Linked DNA regions of Homo sapiens: region 1 is linked to region 2. The links are contacts of gene promoters, found by promoter capture Hi-C in blood cells and fetal thymus (Javierre and others, 2016). All regions are on one chromosome and are shown on one strand. The core of a region is centred on a gene start or on the middle of the fragment in contact, and the rest is flanking DNA. Distances in the headings are between cores, read along the strand shown.

Region 1 (5,184 bases), core at 285-2,784, 790 kb after region 2:
TTAAAATTAAATTGACCGGCGACCAGATGTGTTTTGAGTAATGGGATTTTTTTTTTCCTAATGAGATTTGAAAACATTTGGAAGAATATTAAGCAACAACTTATAGATTGAAGGGTAGGGAACTGGTTTCCAAAAAGATTGTCCTCTGCACCTTGCCTCCTGTATTAGTCCTTTTTCACACTGCTATAAAGAACTACCTGAGAGTTTTCACACTGCTATAAATAACTCCCTGAGACTGAGTGACTTACAAAGGAAAGAAGTTTAATTGACTCAGTTCTGCATGGCGGGGGAGGCCTCAGGAAACTTACGATCATGGCAGAAAGCAAAGGGAAAGCAAGGCACGTCTTACATGGCAGCAGGAGAGAGAGAGAAGACATAAACGCCAAACTTCTAAACCATCAGATCTTGTGGGAACTTACTATCAGGAGAACAGCAAGGGGGAAGTCCGCCCCCATGATTCAGTCACCTCCTACCAGGACCCTCCTCTGACACATAGGGATTATTACAACTCGAGATGAGATTTGGGTGGGGGGACACAGAGCCAACGATATCACCTCCTAATAGGAATTAACTTTGTTTCTTAAAACTTCTCTGAAATAACAGTATGGTGATTCATATTGCAGAGAATCATGTTAAGTAATCTAGTATTAAATTGTGGGGTTTCTACTAATTGTGTGTGTGTTCACCTTTTCCATTCTAGCTTTCCTACAGCATTCTTGAAGGAATGTTTACTTATCATGCAATAGATATTATTTGAGTGCACAGTTAATGGTGACCAACCATCCTCATTTTTTCAGGACCAAGGGGTTTGCTAGGGCACAGGGCATCCAGTGTTCAAACCGGGACAATCCTTGGCAAACCAGGTCGCCTCCATGAGTCAGGTCCTAGGTCAGATGCACAGGGACCCTGGAGGACCTGAAATGGCCCCTGTCCTACATAAAGTTTACCTTCTAACAGGGAAGATAAATTTTAAACCATGAATGACAGGAGTGATGTGGGAGCTTGGCACTAGTGAACTTGATCAGAGGGAACAGGGAAGCTTTCTTGGGAAGGATATTTAGCTTGAGAGCTTAAGTTGTTACAGAACCAAACTGGGGTCTGCTCACCTGGTGGTGCAGTGAAACCAGATGTCTATATTGAGGGTTGCTACGATAGATAGAAAGGCTTTTATTGCACAGCACTAAGCAAGGAGGACCAGACATTAAATGTTCAAATCCTGGCCTCCCCAGTGGCTTTTAGGCAAGGAATTTTTTTTTTTTTGAGATGGAGTCTCACTCTGTTACCCAGGCTGGAGTACTGTGTTGCAATCTCAGCTCACTGCAACCCCCGGCCTCCCGGGTTCAAGCAGTTCTGCCGCAGCCTCCTGAGTAGCTGGGATTACAGGCGCCTACCACCATGCCCGGTTAATTTTTGTATTTTCAGTAGAGACGGGGTTTCACCATGTTGGCCCGGCTGGTCTTAATCTCCTGACTTCGTGATCCACCCGCCTCAGCCTCCCAAAGTGCTGAGATGATACAGGCATGAGCCACCACACCCGGCCTTTTTTTTTTTTTTAATGAGACAGAATCTCACTTGGTCACCCAGGCTGGAGTGCAATGGCACGATCTCAGCTCACTGCAACGTCTGCCTCCCAGGTTCAAGTGATTTTCCTGCCTCAGCCTCCCCAGTCCCTAGGATTACAGGCACATACCACCACACCTGGCAAATTTTTTGTATTTTGAGTAGAGACAGAGTTTCACCATGTTAGCCAGGTTGGCCTCAAACTCCTGACCTCAGGTGATCCGCCTGCCTAGGCCTCCCAAAGTGCTGGGATTACAGACATGAGCCACCGTGCCCGGCTAGGCAAGGATTTCTGAAGGCAATGGTAAGTTACAGAAAAGCAGAAGCTACAGGCAAAATCATAAAGCAATACATGGAGGTTACACACTGGTTTAGACTTAAAAGGGCAAGGATGTCTTGAAGCAGGAGCTTGTCATAGGTAGATTCAAAGATTTTTCTGATTTGTAATTGGTTAAAGAAAAGAAGCTTTGTTTAAAAATTTAGAGTCAGTAGGAAAATGTTAACTGGCTGGGAGAAGTGACTTTCTCCAAGCCCCTCAAGAAGAAACTTAGCACAAAGAACGCTGAAGCTCAGCCTTCATGTCCCGCTTATCTGGGGTCTCTGAGCCAGCAGCTCCATTTGGTGGGGTCCTCAGTGGGAGTCCCAGCCTCTGAAAGGCAACTCAGGGACGCATGTTAAGATGTTATCTTTAGTTTCCATGGGGAAAGCGAACATCTCTGGAGCCTTAACTTCTTTGGCTGTTGTTTTAGGTTACTATTACCTTCCTGTTTAACAAGTTCCATATTTACTTTTGGGGCTAGCTGGATGCTCGGAATTTCCCTTAAAGGAACTTCAGGATTTTCCTTTATTTTCCCACTTGGGGTTCACAGGCCCCTGAAAAAGGGAATTGCTGCTCCATCTCCAAGTTGGGGTCAGATGTAGCTAGTCATAGGGCTCGACTAGAGTGAGGGGACAGGGTTATGTCCAAGAGAGCACTGCCGTCGAAGAAGCTGTGTAAGGAAAGGCCCTGCAGCAGGAGAGAGGCTGCCACGCTCCCTGCACTGGGAACACAGGGATGGCTGAAGCCGAGACAAGAACAGGGAAAGAAGCTGGGCGCAGTGGCTCACACCTGTAATCCCAGCACTTTAGGAGACCAAGGTGGGCTGATCACCTGATGTCAGAAGTTCAAGACCAGCCTGGCCAACATGGTGAAACCCCGTCTCTACTAAAAATACGAAAATTAGCTGGGTGTGGTGGTGCACACCTGTAGTCCCAGCTGCTCGGGAGGCTGAGACAAGAGAATTGCTTGAACCTGGGAGGCTGAGGTTGCAGTGAGCAGAGATTGCACCACTGCATTCAGCCTGGGTGTAAGAGTGAGACTCCTCAAAAAAAAAAAAAAAAAAAAAAAAGAATAGGGAAAGAAGTGTGACCAAGACCAAGATCAAGAGGGAGGCAGAACCATACTAGGCCTCACTTCAGACTCTGTTCTCAGGCCAGTGGGAAGACACTAAAGAGTTGTGGGCCAGAGGGTGATGCAATTTGCATGTAGTGTAAGCATGCAGATAACAAGGACTTCAGGATTCAGAAGGAAGACATTTAAGAGGCAAAAGAGGGGGTGTTTGGAGGTAGTTTAGGAATCAGATGATTGCTCCCAAAAAAAATAAAATTTATTTTCTCAGCCATACTAGTCACATTTCAAGTATTAGAGCAGAATTATAGAACATTTCCATCATCACCAGAAGTTGTGTTGGGCAGCTGACATAGAGTGGCCCATCTGCTGTGACCATCCTCCAGCACTGTATCCAGGGCAGGGCAGGTGTCACAGGATCTGTAAACTGAAGAGACCCCTCCTGTCCTAGTGGGAAATTTCTGCTTCCAGACAGCCTTGAATAGGGACTTGGGGCCTGAAAATGTCCCAGGTACCTTCTCTACTTGTTTTTTTCTTGGAGGCCCAGTGAGCTGGCTGGAGGCCAACCCCCCCTCACTCCCCAGCTCAGTGACTGGAACTACTGTGTGCCTACCTGCACATTAGGTCTGTTACGGGGAAAAAGGAGATACTTCCCCCTGTAGAGGGTAGGGAAGTTCTGCAGCAGTTGCCTGGGTCTGCTGAACTCACCCAAAGGGAAGGTGTGATGTGAAAGGCATGTTAGTTTCCTATTGATGCTATAACAAACTACCACAAATTCAGGGACTTAAAACAACACACATTTATCCTCTTGCCTTGCTGGAGGTCAGAAATCCTCAATAAGCTGGAAGGCCTGCATTCCCTCTAGAGCAGGAGTCCCCAGCCCCTGGGCCACGGACCAGTGCTTATAAACAGGGCTGCACAGCAAGATGTGAGTGGCAGGTGAGCGAAGCTTCATCTGTATTTACAGCCACTCCTCATTGCTCGCATTACCACCTGAGCTCCACCTCCTGGCCGATCAGTGGCAGCATTCGATTCTCATAGGAGCCCAAACCCTATTGTGAACTTTGCATGTGAGGGATCTGGATTGCACACTCCTTAGGAGAATCTAATTCCTGATGATCTGTTGCTGTCTCCCATCACCCCCAGATGGGACCATCTAGTTGCAGGAAAACAAGCTCAGGGCTCCCACTGACTCTATATTATGGTGAGTCGTATAATTATTTCATTATATATTACTGTGTAATATAATAGAAATAAAGTGCAGAATAAATGTAATGTGCTTATAAAACATCATCCTGAAACCATTCCCTGCCCAGCCCCACTGCCGCCCCGTGCTCCATGGAAAAATTGTCTTCCACGAAACCAGTCCCTGGTACCAGAAAGGTTGGGGACCACTGCTCTAGAGGCTCTAGGGGAGAACCCATTTCCTGCGTTTTTCATCTTGTAGAGGCCACCAGCCTTCCCTGACTGTGGCTTGTTCCTCCATCATCAACACCAGCAGGGCAGCATCTTCCAGTCTCTCTGTATGTTATCTCCTCCCTGCTACACACACGCTCCCTTCTTCTCTCATCTCATCCCATCCTTCTTTGAACTGACCCTCCTGTTTCCCTTTTATAAGGACCCCTGTAATCACAGTGGGCCCACCCAGCATCATCCCCCATGTCAGGATCCTTGCCTTCCTCACAGCTGCAGAATCCCTTTTGCCATGTAAGGGAGTAGATCCAGAGGTTCTGGGGATTAGAACACAGACCCCTTTCTTGGGAGAGCAGGAAGTTAATCATCTGTCTACCACAGAGGCCCAAGAGCCAAAGACTCCCTCCAACTTGATTTTTTGACGGAACCCGAACTCACCCTGAATGTCCAGTGCCCCCATCCCTGCCCATTCACACCCTTCACTCCTTTTATCTTTTGGGTTCATGTCATGGAGGTCACACATGGAAACCTCCAGAAGCTGGCTTTATGGAGTTACGTTTTATTCTATAAATCTGGAGAAAGGAGGCTTTCTCGTCTTATAAAAAGGACACATGACATTGCTTTGTACCTTGATTTTTTTTTCACTTAAATTTATTGGAGATAATCTCTCTGAATACCTAGAAATCTTTTCAGGGGTTCTTTGTTTTGGTTTTGGTTTGGGGTTTTTTTTTCCTGGCTACATGTTTCTTTGTTATTTATTAAGTTGCTGCAAAAGTAATTGCAGGTTTTGCCATCGAAAGTAATGGCAAAAACCGCAATCACTT
Region 2 (5,835 bases), core at 1,835-4,334:
AGCCTCCCAAGTAGCTGGGATTACAAGCATGTGCCACCACGCTTGCTAATTTTTGTACTTCTAGTAGAGACAGGGTTTCACCATGTTAGCCAGGCTGGTATCAAACCCCCGACTTCAGGTAATTTGCCTGCCTCGGCCTCCCAAATTGCTGGGATTACAGGCGTGAGCCACTGTGCCCGGACTTTATTTTTATTTTAAAATAATGTAATTCTTTGCCTTGCATGAAAACTGTCAATAGTATGTTTTAATATCTGCTGCTCATCATTGCTTTTGTTTTTGTTTTCTTGGTTATTATCAGATGTTTGTTCCTCCACATAAACTTCAGTATCAATGTACTTAACTCCAGAAAAAAACTTTTGGTATTTTTATTGGGAGTATGTTACATTTCTGAATAATCTTGGGGAGAATGTCTGGTATCAGTGCTATTTTACAACGTAGGAAATGTGTTCCTGGCCCATGTGGTAAGATCAGAAAAATAACAACAGAAATACATATTTTTGGCTGGGGCAGTGGCTCATGCCTGTAATCCCAGCTCTTTGGGAGGACCAGGTGGATGGATCACGAGGTCAGGACTTTGAGACCAGCTGGGTCAATATGATGAAACCATGTCTGTATTAAAAATGCAAAAATTAGTTGGGCGCAGTGGCACATGCCTGTAGTCCCAACTACTCAGGAGGCTGAGGCAGAAGAATGGCTTGAACCCAGGAGGCAGAGTTTGCAGTGAGTGAAGATCGCACCACTGCACTCCAGTCTGGGTGGCAGAGCGAAACTATGTCTCAAAAAAACAAAACAAAACAAAACATTTTTTAATTTAAATTTTTTTTATATATATATAGAGAGATGGGGTTTTGCTGTGTAGCCCAGGCTTGTCTTAAACTCCTGGCCTTAAACGATCCTACCATCTTGGCCTGGCAGATATTTTAGGCCAGGAGTTCGAGATCAGCCTGGCCAACCTGGTGAAATCGTTCTCTACTAAAAATACAAAAATTAGCTGGGCGTGGTGGCAGGCGCCTGTAATCCCAGCTACTCCAGAGGCTGAGGCAGGAGAATTGCTTGAACCTGGGAGGTGGAGGTTGCGGTGAGCTGAGATCACACCACTGCACTCCAGCCTGGTCTGATCCAGTGAGATCTGTCGCAAGCAAGCAAGCAAGCAAGAAAGAAAAAGAAAACCCAATGGAATCAGCAGGTTCTAAAAAATAAAGAATGAAGAAAAAAAGGCCTACAGAAACTCTGACTGAATGGAAGGGATAGACCATGCCATTCATTGGCAGCTTTATCAATATGGAAGAATCATGGAAAGGCTCTAGGAACATGAGGAGAGGCATACAAACAAGCTTTATATTTATATCTAAAAAGTAAAGCAGAGGTTCCTCTTCAAAGACGTTCCTTCACATTTAATTAGGAATAAATAGTAACTTCTCTTAGAAGCAAAATTTATTCAAAGACCTGTGCTAACATTCTCAAGTATCTGTGAGCCGTGATAAAGAAATCAATGTACTTTATATTCTTAGCTCCCACAGTTTAGTCTACATATTTGCCCTGGCATGCTTGTACTGGTCCAGGCAAGCATTAGGGCATAGCCTGTTCTTTTTCCTTATTTGAAGATGTTTTGACCCTTCTCAGCATTCCACAAGTTACTTCCTCCTTCCTTTGTTCTCCTCTACCCTTGCCTCTTTTAAAAAGTTATAAGTTGCTAGCCAGAACGTGAGGTCCCATTCCAGCCAGTGGAAACTGGACACAGCAGTAGGTTGGAAGCATCAGGTTATAAATGACCCTATCTCCTTTGTTTGGTGTACTCTCGTGGCAAAACTGCTGGTGAGTATACCGTTTCTGCAGGAAGTAAAAATGGCCTTGCTGAGTAAATTAAATTTATGTTCAAGTGCTAATTTCTTTATGGCACCAGGGAACAAGCATTTTGAACATGTATATTTATATATTTTTTATATATTTATATATTTATATGTATTTATACATATATGTTTATATATATATATATAGAGAGAGAGAGAGAGAGAGAGACAGGGTCTTGCTACTTTGCCCAGGCTGGTCTCAAACTCTTGGACTTGTAGAAAATGAAATAAATACAGGTTCCTCTTCAAAGGGACTTTCCTCCCAGTCTGATTGAAATAAATAGTAATCCCTCTTAGAAGCCAAATTTTCTCAAAGACCTGTGGTAATATTGTTAAATTCTGCCAGCCGTAATAAAGAAATCAATAGACTCTGTTTTTAGCTCCCACATTTTAGCCTAGATATTTGCCCTGGCATGCCTGAACTGGTCCAAGCAACTATTAGGTCATGGCCTATTCCTTTCCCTATTTAGAAGTGTTTTTGCCTCTCTCAACAGTCCACAAGTTACTTCCTCTCTTCCTTTGTTCTCCTCTGCCATTGCCTCTTTTGGGAAGTTCTAAGTTGCTAGCCAATCCAGTGAAGTACAGGAAGGTGAGGTCCCGTTCCAGCCAATGGAAGCTGGACACAGCAGAAGGATGGACACTTCAAGTTTAAAAAAACCCTGTCTCCTTTGTTAATGTGTGCTCTGGTGGCAAGACTGCCAGCCAGTGGCACCCATTCTGCAGAAAGTAAAACTAGCCTTGCTGAGATCCTTTGTCTCAGTGTTGATTTTGTGACACCAAGCGAGCACCCATTCCCAGCAGACTCAAGCTATTTACCTACCTTAGCCTCCCAAAGTGCAGGAATTACAGGCGTGAGCCACTGCGCTCGCCCGATAAAAGCTTTGGAGGAGCATCCCCCGGGGATGCGTCCCATCCCTCATCCCCGCCCTTCCAGCCCGACCGGCCACCTGAACCACCGGCTAGGCCGGGTCCCTCCTCTAAATCACCCCCCGAGTACGAGCCCCTCCCCTCGCCCACAGTTCCGTCTGGAGGCCCGGTTCTAACCTCACCTTTTTCTCTGGACCTAGTTCTGCATCCCCCTCCCTGAGCCAACCCCAGGCCCTTTCTGCACCCACCCGAGAGGAAACTAGAATTTCTGTGTTCTACCCGGTCCTACGTGGCTGAAACTGGAGCCCACGAGCCTCGCCCGGCCAGAGTGTTGAAGCGGAAGTGACGTCAGCGCACCACCGCCATCTTTTCCGGCGCTGGCTCCTCTCCGTCAGTGCGGTTTCGCCTTTATGGTGGTGGAGTCTGCCCAGGCTGTGGTGAGTTCCACCTCCTTGGCGGTCCCGGGGATAGCAGGGGGCGGCAAAGGAATGATTGCGCGCTGTCGCCTAGGAGCCTCTCAGATCCGCTTCACTTCACTCGCTTCTCCAGGGACTATCAGTCCTCCCTGTGCGTCCAGTTCGGAGAGGCTGCGCGCTCTCTCGGCTCACTGCAACCTCTGCAACCTCTGCCTCCAGGGTCAAGCAGTTCTCCTGCCTCAGCCTTCCGAGTACCTGGGATTACAGGCAAGTGCCACCACGCCCGGCTACTTTTTCTATCTTTAGTAGAGATGGTTTTGCCATGTTGGCCAGGCTGGTCTTGAACTCCTGACCTTAGGTGATCTGTCTGCCTCGGTCCCCCAAAGTGCTGGGATTATAGGTGTGAGCCACTGCACCCGGCCGACTTTTGAAAATTTTAGATTTTGTTCTTAAGTCATCTTAGGTACGTAATGAAGTTATCAATAACACACGTGGCTGGTGACTACTGAATTGTTCTGTGCAGGTCTGCACTGTCTTCTGGTCATATGGCGGGGGGGTAACACCATATACAGGAGATCAGGCTCTAGGGACAAGTATCAGACCGACTACTAGGGTTGTTTGAGTGTAGGTTTTTTTCAGTATTAAATAGAAGTAATGGGCCAGGCATCGTGGCTTATGCTTATTATCCCAGCACTTTGGGAGGCCAAGTCAGGAGGATTGTTTGAGCCCAGGAGTTTGAGACTAGCCTAGGCAATCTGGTGAAAACTTGTCTCTACTAAAACTACAAAAAATTAGCCGGACCCAGTGGTGTGCACCTGTAGTCCCAGCTAGTTGGGGGGCTGAAGTGGGAGAATCACTTAAGGCCAGGAGTTCAAGACCAGCCTGGCCAATATGGCGAAACTGCGTCTCTACTAAAAATGCAAAAATTAGCCAGGCATGGTAGTGCATACCTGAAATCCCAGCTACTCGGGAGGCTGAGGCCTGATAATCGCTTGCACCTGGGAGGCAGAGGTTGCAATGAGTTGAGATCATGCCACTGCATTCCAGCCTGGGCAACAGAGTGAGACTCTGTCTCAAAATAATAATAATAATAATGAGTGATGATACGCACCTATGGTCCCAGCTATTCAGGAGGCTGAAGTGGGAGGATCACTTGAGCCCGGGAAGTCTAGGCTACAGAGAGTTGTGTTAGTGCCATTGGATTTCAACCTGGGCAACAGAGTGAGACCCTGTCTCGATAGATAGATAGATAGATAGATAGGATAGATATAGATAGATAGATATAGATAGATATATAGATAGATAGATATAGATAGATAAATATAGATAGATATAGATAGATAGAGGTAATGATAGCTACTGGGAAGGATGGCTATGATAATTAACTGAGCATGTATATATAAAGCTACTAGAGCTACTTCTGACATATCAGTCCTCAGTAAATGTCAGTTACTGTTATTAATACTTTTGTTACTGAGTGACGGTACTGAGTGGGCAATTTTTGGTGGCCTTCACATCTGTCACCTGCAGAGACAAAGCTCAGGCATAATGTTTGATGACTGATGTTTCATGCTTGTTGTTTGATGATTGATATGAACAGGACCGCAAATAACCCTGTACAAAGAGGAATGGAGATTGCCTCTATCCACCTAGATTCATAAGCTGGCCTGAGGTGATCTTGGCATCAAGGAAGGGATGCACATCATCACACCATCAGCTTCAGAGAATGGCAGCCATTTATTTGTCCCGTGGTAAGTCTTTGTTGATGCTCTTTTTCAGAGATTCTGCTTTAGGTCACCCTCCACAACACAAGCGTCCAGTGAGCTGAGCCTGAGCAGGCATGCAGCTGGTTCTTTTAGGAGGAATTGAAGTGAACCACAGAACAGAATGCTGTTTTATTATTTATTTATTTATTTATTTATTTTTGAGACAGAATCTTGTTCCGTCACCCAGGCTGGAGTGCAGTGGTGCAATCTTAGCTCACTGCAACCTTCACCTCCCAGGTTCAAGTGATTCTCTTGCCTCAGCCTCCCAAGTATCTGGGACCACAAGCACATACTGCCAGACCTGGCTAATTTTTGTTTGTTTGTTTGTTTTTGTTTTTGAGACAGAATCTCACTCTGTCTCCCAGGCTGGAGTGCAGTGCCTGTGGTCTCGACTCACTGCAACTTCTGTCTCCTGGGTTCAAGTAATTCTCTGCCTCAGCCTCCCATAATTTTTCTATTTTTAGTAGAGATGGGGTTTCATAATGTTGGCCAGGCTGGTCTCAAATTCCTGACCTCAAGTGATTTGCCCGCCTTGGCCTCCCAAAGTATTGGGATTACAGGCATGAGCCACTGTGCCCAGCCAGAATGCTGTTTTAGAATTCAGCCCTGGTTTGTGTACCTTAGGAAATGCTACATAAGCTTCATGAGTGTTACTACTATGGGCAGATAGAGAGTCACTTTTTTTTTTTTTGAGACGGAGTCTTGCTCTGTCACCCAGGCTAGAGTGCAGTGGCACGATCTCGGCTCACTGCAAGCTCCGCCTCCTGGGTTCACACCATTCTCCTGCCTCAGCCTCCTGAGTAGCTGGGACTATAGATGCCCACCACCACATCTGGCTAATTTTTTGTATTTTTAGTAGAGATGGGGTTTCACCGTGTTAGCTAGGATGGTCTCGTTCTCCTGACCTCATGATCCACCCGCCTCGGCCTCCCAAAG

Evidence for each region. The method cuts DNA at HindIII sites, captures the fragments that hold promoters and counts their contacts. A CHiCAGO score of 5 or more calls a contact.
Region 1: a fragment that was not itself captured here is called in contact with the fragment with the promoter of ZNF561 in region 2 in 1 of 17 cell types (total B cells); the score reaches 5.6 in total B cells.

Annotation. Positions count from the first base shown.
Region 1 is chr19:8,825,336-8,830,519 of GRCh38, reverse strand. All of the region lies in intron 2 of ZNF558 (zinc finger protein 558), which reads left to right. Among named protein-coding and RNA genes, the nearest start is that of ZNF558, 4.4 kb to the left of the region's middle. The HindIII fragment of the contact is 986 bases long and covers 1,042-2,027 here.
Region 2 is chr19:9,618,481-9,624,315 of GRCh38, reverse strand. ZNF561 (zinc finger protein 561) reads left to right here and starts at 3,084. Exons shown (of 6, transcript NM_152289.3): 1 at 3,084-3,154; 2 at 4,734-4,884. The coding sequence starts at 4,860. It overlaps ZNF561-AS1 (ZNF561 antisense RNA 1), which reads right to left and starts at 2,834. Exons shown (of 4, transcript NR_122038.1): 1 at 2,671-2,834. RefSeq lists enhancers at 2,755-3,174, 3,323-3,905. The HindIII fragment of the contact is 2,809 bases long and covers 2,732-5,540 here.